Linked DNA regions of Homo sapiens: all the other regions are linked to region 2. Evidence: promoter capture Hi-C in 16 types of primary human blood cells and fetal thymus (Javierre and others, 2016). All regions are on one chromosome and are shown on one strand. Each heading gives the region's core, a stretch centred on a gene start or on the middle of the fragment in contact. The rest is flanking DNA. Distances are from core to core; before and after follow the strand shown.

Region 1 (3,989 bases), core at 540-3,039, 220 kb after region 2:
CCTACCCCATCTTCGAAATGGCAGACAGGAAATACCAAGAGTCAAAATCTCAACTCTCTTTTGTTGTTTTGATCGGCAATTAAAAAGAAATTCTTGGCTGGGCACGGTGGCTCACACCTATAATCCCAGCACTTTGGGAGGCTGAGGCGGGCAGATCACCTGAGGTCAGGAGTTCGAAACCAGCCTGGCCAACATAGTGAAACCCCATCTCTACAAAAACTGCAAAAAAAATTAGCCAGGCATGGTGGTGCATGCCTGTAATCCCAGCTATTCGGGAGGCTGAGGCAGGAGAATCCCTTGAACCCGGGAGGTGGAGGTTGCAGTGAACCGAGATTTCACCATTGCACTCCAGCCTGGGTGACAAAAGTGAGACTCTATCTCAAAAAAAAAAAAAAAGAAAGAAAGAAAAAAAGAAATTCTTGAACTCAAAAAAAAAAAAAAAATTCAGGCTATGAAAAGATATTTTATTGAATTAAATGTGAAAATGTATGACTTTTTTATACTTGAAAATTAAAAAAGCTTTAAATTAGCTTCCTGTACCTTTTTCTCTTTAAAGCAATGGGTTTATTTCAACATATAGCCCCAAGAACTCACCAAACTGTAGTATAAAGTATTATATCCAGAGTTCAGACAATGGCAAAGTGACACACCAGGAAAAGCCAGAGTTTGGGTTTTGAGAATAGAGACACACCCAGGTAAAGGCTGGTGTTGGTTATTTCAGATGCTTAAATCTGCTATTGGATTTGTAACTGGGACATCTGTCATTAAAGAAGAAAAACAAGCAGGAACAAGATGCGGTAGGTGGCAGATGGATTTTCCAAGCAGCTGGCAGTTAGCACAGGTTTGGACAGGTTGGAAGTCAAGGTTGAGAAAATCTGATAGTCACACATTTGGAACAAAAGACTTCACTTTCACATAATTTTGTTGTTTGTTTTATTGGTTGTTTTTTTGTTTTGTTTTGGTTTGGTTTGGTTTGATTTGTTCTGGTTCCAAATAACTTTCTTATGTCACTATGGGATGCCCCATTGAGGAAATGTAATGGCTACATATATAGTAGTTCATATAGTACATGTCTCTTACGCCTTAGACATAAGATAACTGGATTCAAATTCCAGTCCTAACACTTACTAGCTGTGTCACCTTAGGCAAATGTTTGATGTTCCAGGGGCTTCACTTATTCACTATAAAATAAAGTCGCCATTTATTTATTGAGACAGGGTCTCCATCTGTCTCCCAGGCTGGAGTGCAATGGCATGATAATAGTTCACTGCAGCCTCTGCCTCCCAGGCTCGAGGTATCCTCTTAACCTCTCAGGTAGCTGGTACAACAGGTGCATGCCATCAAGCCCAGCTAATTTTTGTATTTTTTGTAGAGATGGGGTCTCACTGTTTTGCCCAGGCTGGTCTCAAACTCCTGGACTCAAGCAATCCTCCAGCCTTGGCATCCCAAAGTGCTGGGATTATAGGTGTGAGTCATTGTGCCCAGCCTAAAGTGGGTGTTTAAACGAGCAATTCTTAACCCTGTTTATTGGTGGGAGAGGGTCATTCACCTCTTTTGACCTGATCAAAGATAAGAATCACTTTCTCACAAAAATGCACATAAACATCCCGCCTAATTTTGGCACATATTTTATCTTATTGTATTAGAAATTGACTTCTTCACACAGAAAAAAAATCCTATAAAAAATTTTCTTCTCTCATTCTTGTTTATTCACGTAAATGGAGTAATCTAAAATAAATTCAGTGAGCAAATACAAAAGAAAAAAATTAAAATTCTTCCCCCAAAGCAAATTTCAACATAAAGGCTGCCATTACTTGACTTGAGAAGAAATTACAGCATAGTCTTACATGGTAATATGCTTGTCATTTGTGGTAAGTCTATCAATTTTGATAGCAACAAATGTAAGAAAGCCCAGATTAACAAAAGTATGTTGTCGCAAATGAATAGGTTTAAGTCCAGATGCACTGGATTTCTCTAGGACCCTTCAAGCTAATGCAGTTGCATCATTTCCTCACATCTACAAAGTTGGTCATCTTTGCAAAGTCTGCATCATCTATGTTGCATATGTCAGCAAGAAAATGGTTAAAATAACCATTCCAATTTTAAGGTCAAACCAGTTTAACCTTTAGAGGTATTCTGCAGTGTTTCCGGAAGTCTGTAGATTTCTACCTTGTGAGAAATCAACATGTTTCATCACTCTTAAACAGAGCCAGGAGAATATCCTCCGGCGTGGAAAAGTTGTTCATATTTGTCTGTTCCCAATCTCCTCTCCCTCAGTGGCAACTTAGCCAAAAGGACTCACAGATTTTTTTTTTTTTTCTGGTCGGTTTCCAAAATGGCAACCTCAGGATCTTATGCTGAACAAAAGCCTTACCTTATTCATGTATTCTGCTTTTATTTCTTGACAAAAATCTCTTTAAACACCAATGAGTCAAAGCCTGGGATCTGGAGAAATTGATGACGTCTGCAGCTATAGGTAAAACATCTTTCAGGACTATTGGCAGGGACTTTAATGCTTTTGCAAGATGCTATAGAAAGCCGTGACACATAGTGACGTGTTGAGCTTCTTTCTTCATCAAAGCAGAAAAACCAGATGCATTGCCAAACATTGCATGTGTACTATAGTCTCAAGGTTCTGTTTGCAATTAGAGTTTTTACTTGAGGAAGTAACTCTCTACCATTTTAAGTAATTCAGAACCTTTGAGGTTTCCAAAAGGGAATAACAAAATTTCTTTTTAAAAATTTCAACTCATATATGACAGATAAGCATTAGAAAATGACTGAACTGAGATATGGCACTTTTTTGCCAAACAGAAATGGCATAATTGCAAGTTACTCCATGTTCTAATTCAGAATAATAGATGAAATGTCAGTAAATTCAGAATAGAGTATTTTATTTGGCAAAGGGGCTAATTCCCTATTATTCCTTTATTCCAAGTCATAATTCAACTTGACCATTTAAAAAGTACGAGGCTTACATTACATGTGGCTTCCTGTGCCTAGCAATGCAATTAGAAGCCTTGTCAGATGTTTCAGGATGGGAAGTGTTAGGGCAAATACAAGCTTTTGGAAAATTCCAGCCTTTTCAGATTGAATCTTCTTCACAAAACAACAAACAACAATAGCAACAACAAAACCACCACACTGTCTCATGAATTCTTAGGATAATATAATATAAAACTGTGTTTTTGTTTTTGTTTTTTCAGTTCTTTCTCTGCTAGCTGCCATGAGCCAGAATCAAGGTGCTCAGTAAGCAATCTGGCTTTCACATTCATAACCTTCTAGCAAAGCATATCAAACCAAGGGATACCTAAGCCTAGAAGCACTTTTTGCTCTTTCAATTTTAGCTACATGCAATATAAGTAGATTATCTGTAAACATAATGCCACATATAATTTTAATTCTTACCAAGAAAGCACTATTGAACTATCATGATATATAGTTATTTATTCTGTATAATAACTGCCCATACCACCCTGCCATTTTTTTTTTTTTTTTTTTGAGTCTCCCTCTGTCACCCAGGCTGCAGTGCAATGGGGCGATCTCGGCTCACTGCAAACTCTGCCTCCCGAGTTCAAGCGATTCTCCTGCCTCAGCCTCCTGAGTAGCTGAGCATGTCAAACATGCTCTTGGGGTCAGATGAGGAGGCTTACAGTTGTAATTCAGAACTTTGGGAGGCTGAGGTGAGAGGATCATTTGAGCTCAGAAATTTAAGGCTGCAGTGAGCAATGATAGAGGCACTGCACTCCAGCCTGGGCAATAGAGCAAGATCCTGTCTCAAAACAAAACCAAAACCAAACACAAACAAAAAACAGCCTCTTGGGGTTTGAGCAGTATGAGACAATTTTTCTGAAACCTGATCATACACCTGCCACCACACCCAGCTAATTTTTTTTTGTATTTTCAGTAGAGATGGGGTTTCACCATATTGGTCAGGCTGGTCTCAAACTCCTGACCTCAAATGATCCGCCCGCCTTGACCTCCTGAAG
Region 2 (3,923 bases), core at 92-2,591:
GTCCTTTTGAAAGGACTCACACCCGGCCCCCAGAGAATCTGACTTAATTGGCCTGGGTTGAGTATATTGTTGGAGAGTGTCAAAACACTCCCCAGGTGATTCTGACATTAGCCGGGGCCCGGAACCACCCCCGACCTACTGAATCTGGGACTCCAGGAGAGGCCCAGCCACTAGTGGTTTAACAAGCCCCTTGGGTCAAGTTTGAAAACCAGGGGTCTGGGCTGCTAAGTGGCGGCATGGGAATGGAAGGTTCTGGAAGGTGAGCAGTGAGGTTGGGGCGCAGGCCTGGGAAGGGAGAGGCTCTTCAACAGCCATCCCCCCCAACCTTGTCTCAGCCTAGGGCAATGGGCAGGCTCTCCCATCAGAGCCTGGCCTGAGCCCTCAGAGGCAGGACCTCCTTGAGGGATGTGGAGGTGTGAAGACCAGTTCTGAGACCACAGAGGCTCCCTTCAAGCCTCAGTCTCTGACCCTGCGGGCATTATTTCCATGACTTCCAGTGTTGTGGCTCCTTATCCTTTCCCCACAGGCTCGCCCCCCAACTGAGGGCTGGCTTTTTTATTTTTTTGAGACGGAGTTTCGCTGGTTGCCCAGGTTGGAGTGCAATGGGGCGATCTCAGCTCACTGCAACCTCTGCCTCCCAGGTTCAAGCGATTCTCTCGCCTCAGCCTGCCAAGTAGCTGGGATTATAGGGACCCACCACCACACCTGGCTGTTTTTGTTGTTGTTGTTTTGGTATTTTTAGTACAGACGGGGATTCGCCGTGTTGGCCAGGCTGGTCTCGAACTCCTGACCTTAGGTGATCCATCCGCCTTGGCCTCCCAAAGTGCTCAGATTACAGGCGTGAGCCAGCACGCCCGGCCGAGGGCTGGCTTTTAAAACACCGAAAACCCAGACAGGAACGGTGTCCATCTCCAACCCCAGACGGAAACTGTGCCCGCACCCACAAGAAAAGCAGTCCTTTGCCCAGAGCAACCAAACCCTGAACCCCACTCTCGATTCCCCTCTGCCCCCCAACTCTTCCATCCCAGCGGATGGGAAACAGCGAGTCCAGCCGCCTCCCCACCTCGGGACCCCCCTCCCGGGCCAACTGCGCAGGGCACGACCCCGTCGTGGTGCCCCGCGCGCTCGACCCCCAGGGGTTGAGGTGAGGAGGGATCCCCGGTGTCCCGGGAAGCGCGGCGGCTTCTGCGGGTTGCGGGCGGACCCCCCTCCCCGTGGGGAGGGGCTGCGGCCGCGCGGAGTCGCCGCGGGTCGGAGGCTCCTCCCCGGGGTGGCCGCGCAGGAAGCGGGGCGGGTGGGGGCGGTGCGGGGCGCGCACGGGGCCGGGGCGGCGGGGGAGGCGCGGGCCTGGGCGGCCAGCCCCGGCGCACAGCCGCGGCCGGGGCGCGCGGCGCGGGGCGGAAAAGCCTGTTTACACAGACTGCACACCGCCTGGGGAATAATGCAGTAAAGGAAGTGAGCCGGCTCGGCCTGACTGCTCCAACTTCCTGCTCTCACACACACCAGAGGGGAAAAAAAAAGAGGAGCGAGAGAAAGAAAAAAAGGGGGAAAAATCAGGATCTCATTACAAGAGCCACAGACCGTCTGCAGACGCCTGTCAGCATGGAAAGTCGGGGGCTTTCGCCCGGGTCCTCCTAGAAATTCCCCCCGAAGAAGACTCCCCCACATCTGGGTAGGTAACAGGGCTTCTGCCTGTTGCTCGGACACTTAAAAAGTTTGTTTGGGGGTGTTTTCTTTTTTTCTTTCTTTTCTTGGGCGCGGTGGGGGTGGGGCGGGGGGCGCCGCGGGGTGGGCTGCGGGCCGGGGTGGGGGTGGCGGTGCGTCCGCGCGGGAGGGCCGGCCGCGGGGAGGGGGCGCCGCGGATGCTCCTGCGCCCGCGTCGCTGCCACCGCCGTCGCCCGAGCTCGCGCCGGGCCCGGGGCTGCGGGGACCCTGCGCCCGCGGCTCCCCTCCCTGGGGCTGCGCTGCGACCCCAGAGGAAGGGGCGCCGGGCGTGCAACCCTGGGAGCTCGCCCAGGGCCCCGCTGCAGGCAGCGCGGGGAGCGGGGGACGGCGAGACTTCGGGTCCCTGGGAAGAACCGTGGCAGGAGCAGGCTGAGTGCCTGGAGGCTGGACCACCGCCGACCTTCCAGCTGGGACCGCAGTCAGGCTCCCCTCGAGTGGGCAAAGTGCACTGGTGCTCGGATCCAGGGAGGAAGACAGGGATGGAGAGGGCGGTGGAGGACATGGGTCGCGAAGGTGTGGGGCTGGGGGCTGCGTCCACTCTCGCTTGGCAGGTGACCCCCGCCCAGGTCACCGCCCCAGGCGCACGCCCCATCGGACATTTAAAAGCCGGTGGTCTCTATTGGGCATGGTTTTGGAGAAGGACCAGGCAAGAAATGATCTTGGGGCCCCTTCCACTCCCCATCCCTGTTTACCTTCGAACTCAACGTTGGCCTGTGACGCTACTGTAACTTTTGGGGAGGCGGGATTAAGATTTTGGAGTAGTTAAAAAGCAAAAATAAAAGGTCTTGGTTTTGTTATCTTTTCTGAACCGAATCATCCTAGGGACAAGCTGCAGTTAGGCGGCGGGTGGAGGTGGAAGCAAGAAATGTTATTTCAGAAACTGCAAAAGGGGCTTTTTAGAAAGAAAAAAAAACGAGTGTCGGGAGAGTTTCTGGCTTGTCTGGAAACGGCAAGACTAATTGCCATGCGCTTCCGCTTTGAAACTGGCAGCAGACAGCATCTTGAAAATGACTCACTAGAGGAGCTCACAAAGAAACTGTGGTTTGCTCCTTCTTAGGTTTATGTATTTGTGCCTTTTACAGTTTCCTTTGTAGTGTTCGAGGGGTCCCCCGCCCCTTCCCCGCCAGCCCCCTCCCACCCTCCCTCATTTGAAAGCCCCTGGCCGGTCTTTAACTACCCCCACCCCAGTCCTCCAGCCTGGGGGTGGCGGGGAAAGGGGAGGCTGAGTTGTTTTTGGAGTTGGCTGCGGAGAGGGTTAAAGGGATTCTGCTGCTGCAGGGGGAAAAAGTTCCTTGAATTTTCCACTGGCTGCTGCAGGAAGAGAGAGCCCCCTTAGTCATTGCTAAGTAATGTCTGCACACACACCAACTAATCTCATTAGGAGTTTCCGCTGCTCGGCACAGGAGGGGTTTTGTGCAGCCACTGTCAGCCTGGGAGCCCGGCGCTGGGGAAGGAGACAAGTTATGGCTTTATTTACTTAGGGGTGCAGCCGCCCAACGAGCCTTTTCAGGACATGTCTTGAAAACTTTGAAGTCACTTTGGCCATTTTGGATTTCAGATTTGCAGGTTTTTCTTTCCCGCGTGTGTATGTGTGTTGAGAGGTGGGGGGAGATAAGCAGCTCACACACACCCATCTTCTCCATCTGTGCTTGTCTTTGGGGGTGGGGGGGGTGTGGAGCATGTTCCAGGCATCTATTCATGAGCCGAAATCGATTTGTGAGCCTTACAAAATACCCTCTGATCTCTTTTTCTTTCTCTCTCGCCATGGCACCCATTTATTTGGAAAAGGTCAGTTAGGAGTTTCAATTTATGAGGATGATAAAATTACAAATTGTGTTAGGAGGGCACATGGGTCAGGCAGTTAAGGAGACTGTCCATAAGTGTTCTTAGAGTTTCCAGTAATGATCCTGCCTAGAAACCCCCCTGAGTTTGAAAAGTGATGGCCTTTCTATGCCAAATATAGCAAAGGCCTTCTGCCCTCTAAAAGTGTTTTTTTTTTTTTTTTTTTTTAATTTAAATGTTGCGTAGAAATGTGTGGCGTTACTAAAAAGGGTCAAAAGGAACCTGATTGGAATGATGGGGCCCCTTTATTGACAAAGACATGTTGCTTTTAAGGTGTTGGCAGTTCTTTTACGGTGGCAAAGTTGTCCTAAAAACAGCCCAAACAGCCCGACCGGGGTATGAGTCAGTGGACATGA
Region 3 (4,024 bases), core at 467-2,966, 200 kb after region 2:
GCAGGTTACTGCAGAACACGGTAACATTACTTATTAGATTTACTGGTAGATGTCTATTGATTTTCCATGTTGGCCAACAGGGAGAGGCAGACAGGCTGGGAACAATAAACTACACTGAGGTATATTCAATACACTTCTCTGGCCCTTGGCAATTCCTCTTGCCAGGTCAATATTTTGCAGATATCAAAAGTAACCACCAACTAACTATATTGGAAGCAAAATAATGACAAAGAATCCACTGATGACAATAAAAATTCTTAAAAGCCAGTCTAACTGGTCCTCTCCCCATCAGTTCAAAGAAATTGCCAACATTGTAGATTGAATGCTAGTGAACTACACTAGGTTCGCTATTACAGGCAGTTTTTTTAACTTCAAAAATGCTACATAAAGCACATTTTTAAATGCCATAAACCTATTGTTTATCTTCTGCATTTAAAATGCAAAATGCCATTATCACTTTATGAAATATACTTTAAATACCGATTTCCTGTTTAAAAGTTTAGGCAAAAATTATCCATTCAAAATTCAAAAGAACCTAAAACTATTCATCCTTCCCATGTATGAAAACTGAGACAATTTTTTAAACAGGTAAAATTCCCTAGAGAATATAATTTTTACAATATAGCAATAAAGTAATTATCCATCCTGAAAGTCTAAAACAAACAAAACAAACAAACAAACAAAAAATACAAAGAACATCCTGGAAATCTAAATGCCATGTAAAAGAATGCTAGCCCATGACGGTAAAATTTTCTAAAGACTAGGAAACATCAATAAAGATTCAAAATGTAATGTCTTATAAATATTCAGCATTAGTAGACAATAACAAAGAAAATCATAGGGTAAAAATTTTTGTGTTCACAGATAACTGTTATAATATTAAGGGACATCGTCATCTCCACTTTTGAATAGCTACCCCAGTTGCCATTACAGCTTCCATTGTTCAAAATAAAATAGTTGCATTGTTTTTCAGTGAAAGGAAAGAAGGAAAATATTGCTGAAAATAAGGAAAAAAACAAGCCTCAACAAAGCAACAAAATGATTTTATATGCCATCTAGTTTCGCCATAATTGTAGGACTGAACTGGTATCTGAAAACTAAATATATCAACAAACATATACGTTAAAATCTGCGCTTAGTCAACATAGCTATCCCTGTGCTACCGGGCAAATAAAATTTAAATTTTCTATTTTTTTTTTTATTAAAGCAATGACTTATTAGAGACTACTGGTATATGAAGCTGCAATACACATGGGGATCAATTCCTCCAATTTCATGTTTCCTTACTATGTATGTATCTCTTTTTGTTTTTTCATTCTGGTAACCAGAGTACATATGACAGGCTGCATTATTTCAAATACCTAACACTGAAAGTTACTTTCTGGCCTGAATCTAAGGATGAGAATGATACATTTTATAGAAGCTTCTTTTAGTACAGCAATAGGCAAATTACGATATTAACAAGACTTTAATTCTACATTTACATTTTTTTCTCATTGTAAATGTAATGTGAAACTTATAAAATACAGGAAAAAAATGTTTAATCACCAATAAATCCCACCATTCGTAAACCTTGCTACTTTTTGGTAGATTTCCATCTAGTAACACTGAAGGTTCAATTTTCTAATTCGATACTGATAAATATGCAGGAAAAAAAATCAATGGAGCCTCAATATGGCCTTTCAATAAATGTACATAAAACAACAATTATTAATTATATGACCTGTTAATTTCACAAAAGTCTCTAAAATGTTTTAAGTGGTGGAGTAGGGTAAGGAGTCCATAATTCAGACACTAGCCCTCAAACTGAAATCTCTTCCACAATGTTTGTATGTCAACCCTTTAACGGCAGTGAGCAGCAAGCTATGACTGTTCGTACAGTGATATCAACATTAATGTCTCTATATTAAACAGGCTTTGCTTTTATTTTCTTTCCATTTATACTTCAATAGTGTTTTATTTTCACTGTAAAAATAAATAATAACCTATATTTGCATAGTAATTTTACATAAGCTTAAATTCAAAGACTCCCGTTTTTTTTTAAGCCAACCATTCAAACTGTTAGTGCTTCTGGCCTATGAGATGGTTTACCAGATAAAGTAACATTCTTTATATTCCAATATTCTCTCTCATAACATAAAAAAGAATTTAAGGAATATCCCTTAGTCACATTTTCTTTTGTTCCAACCCACTGTTTATGGAAGCATGCAGATGTTAAGAGTTGCAAAAATTGAAATGACTTCATTAACAAAGCAACATCCCAACGTTTAATGTCAACTCCTCAGACTCATAAAAAAATGAAACAAAACCAATTATATTACCACTAGCAAATTTTTTCCCCTTAAAATCTAGTTTCGTCTTATTTCTAGTTTCAAGGCAAGCTTTGTCTACCCAAGGTATCAAAGGTCTTCAAATCTCATTCATTTTCTTCTGCCCAAGAGTTAAGAAAGTAAGTCTAAAACAGAACAAGCCAGATTTGTTGCTGTGATCTTCTCACACGAACGCCTTTTAAAAGAAATCTTTCAACAAAGACTCAAAAAAGAAACAGCAAAGTTTGGGGAAAGAATTGTCTGTCTTTAGGTCAAGCATTTCCTGATAAGTGACTGAAGGTCTGGCTGCCAGGAATACACTTTGCTGACCCTAGGAATGGCCAAGTCTCAAAACAAAATTTGCCTCTTCTGTATCTTGAAAGTGACCTGTTAGGACCTGATGTCAATTTGACGAAGAGGTGATAGAACATGACCAACGAGGTGTCTTTGGTGGACATATTCATGTAAAGGAGGCGAGAGCCACAGATTTCAGCTAAACGCTTTTTGCCACTTTTGCAAAAGAAAAGCTAATTGTTAACGGCCATGTGACATTATAGATCCCAGAAAAGGAAAGGGTGGGAGGAAGAGAGAGAAGTTCAAGGCAGTTCAGGGTCAGAACAAGCTCAGACATCCTGTCATTAACAAATGTTCCCCAAGCTGAAAGCAAAATACTGCTTACCCGAAAAGGAGTGGGTGAAAAGTAGGGGGAGAACGAGGGAAAAACCACAGGAGAGTCAATGTGGCAGTGTGGGGGTGACAGGAGGGAGGGAATCTGGAGCTATCCAGCTGAGTTGGGGAGCAAAAGCATCGGGCATAGCATCGGGCACAAAAATGCTGAGAAAAGCAACTGCGACGGAGACAGCACTAGGCACCCTCCTCCCCCCATTTTCCCCTCCCCATCGGTTTGCTGGGTTTCCCACCTTCCCTCTACCTCCGCTCTTGACCAACACTCCGGGGTGTGACCCGCCAGCAGGAGGCTGCCCTGATCTTTGTCTCTACCCGCTCCCACGCGCGGGCTCCTCCTCCTCCTCCGCGCTCCCCACCCGCGCACAGCGCCAGCGTCTCCAAGGAGCTGCAGGCGCCGCGACCGCCGCCTCCTCGCCCACCTCCCGCGGACCCGCGCCCCTTCCTTCCCCTCCCGGGCAGCGTCGCCTGCGCCTCCAGCTCCACCCCCGCCGAGGGGACCTTTGTGTCTCGGGGGACTTTCTGCCTCTTTCCCCTCCTCCGCCTCGCGAGGAGACCGGCCTCCCCCGCAGACCAAAGCGGCAGCGAGCACCGGAGGCGGCGGCGTCTATATCTGTCGGCGCCTCCTGGGAAGCAGCTCGCAGACACTCACACCCCACCCGAGCCCCGGAAATCCCCGGGCGACCCAAGGTCCTCGCTGGACCGGAGAGGTGACAGGCGCACGCTAGCCCCCCGCGCCGCGCCTCCTCGCTCAACTTCCCGACCGGGCCTGAGCCACCCGCGCCCCCAGTAGCCCCCGCCCCCGCCTCTGTCCCACGCAGCCTCCCGGCCCCGCGGCCGACCCGACACCAGGGGAAAGCGCGGCGCGGACGCCAGCCGCCAACTCACCAGCAAGAGCGGGGACCGCGGGTCCCGAGGCGAGGCGAAGAGAGGCGCGGGGGGAAGCTGCTCCGCGGACGCCCGCGGCGACCGGATGCAAGTCCGGGTCTCAGCGGCCGGCAGACGTGAGGCGCTTCCGAGCGCAGGCCTCC

The links. Contacts are between HindIII fragments. The CHiCAGO score rates a contact against its expected background, and 5 or more counts as called.
Region 1: a fragment that was not itself captured here is called in contact with the fragment with the promoter of ELK3 in region 2 in 1 of 17 cell types (total CD4 T cells); the score reaches 5.2 in total CD4 T cells.
Region 3: a contact is called between a fragment that was not itself captured here and the fragment with the promoter of ELK3 in region 2, in 7 of 17 cell types (non-activated CD4 T cells, naive CD4 T cells, fetal thymus and 4 more). The highest score is 8.4, in non-activated CD4 T cells.

The regions. Positions count from the first base shown.
Region 1 is chr12:96,414,071-96,418,059 of GRCh38, forward strand. No RefSeq gene overlaps it. Among named protein-coding and RNA genes, the nearest start is that of CDK17, 16 kb to the left of the region's middle. The HindIII fragment of the contact is 2,544 bases long and covers 518-3,061 here.
Region 2 is chr12:96,193,034-96,196,956 of GRCh38, forward strand. ELK3 (ETS transcription factor ELK3) reads left to right here and starts at 1,342. Exons shown (of 5, transcript NM_005230.4): 1 at 1,342-1,672. RefSeq lists a silencer at 1,167-1,306 and an enhancer at 2,638-2,717. The HindIII fragment of the contact is 11,050 bases long and covers 1-3,923 here.
Region 3 is chr12:96,396,105-96,400,128 of GRCh38, forward strand. CDK17 (cyclin dependent kinase 17) reads right to left here. Exons shown (of 17, transcript NM_002595.5): 1 at 3,882-4,024. Among named protein-coding and RNA genes, the nearest start is that of CDK17, 2.3 kb to the right of the region's middle. RefSeq lists a silencer at 3,739-3,898. The HindIII fragment of the contact is 590 bases long and covers 1,422-2,011 here.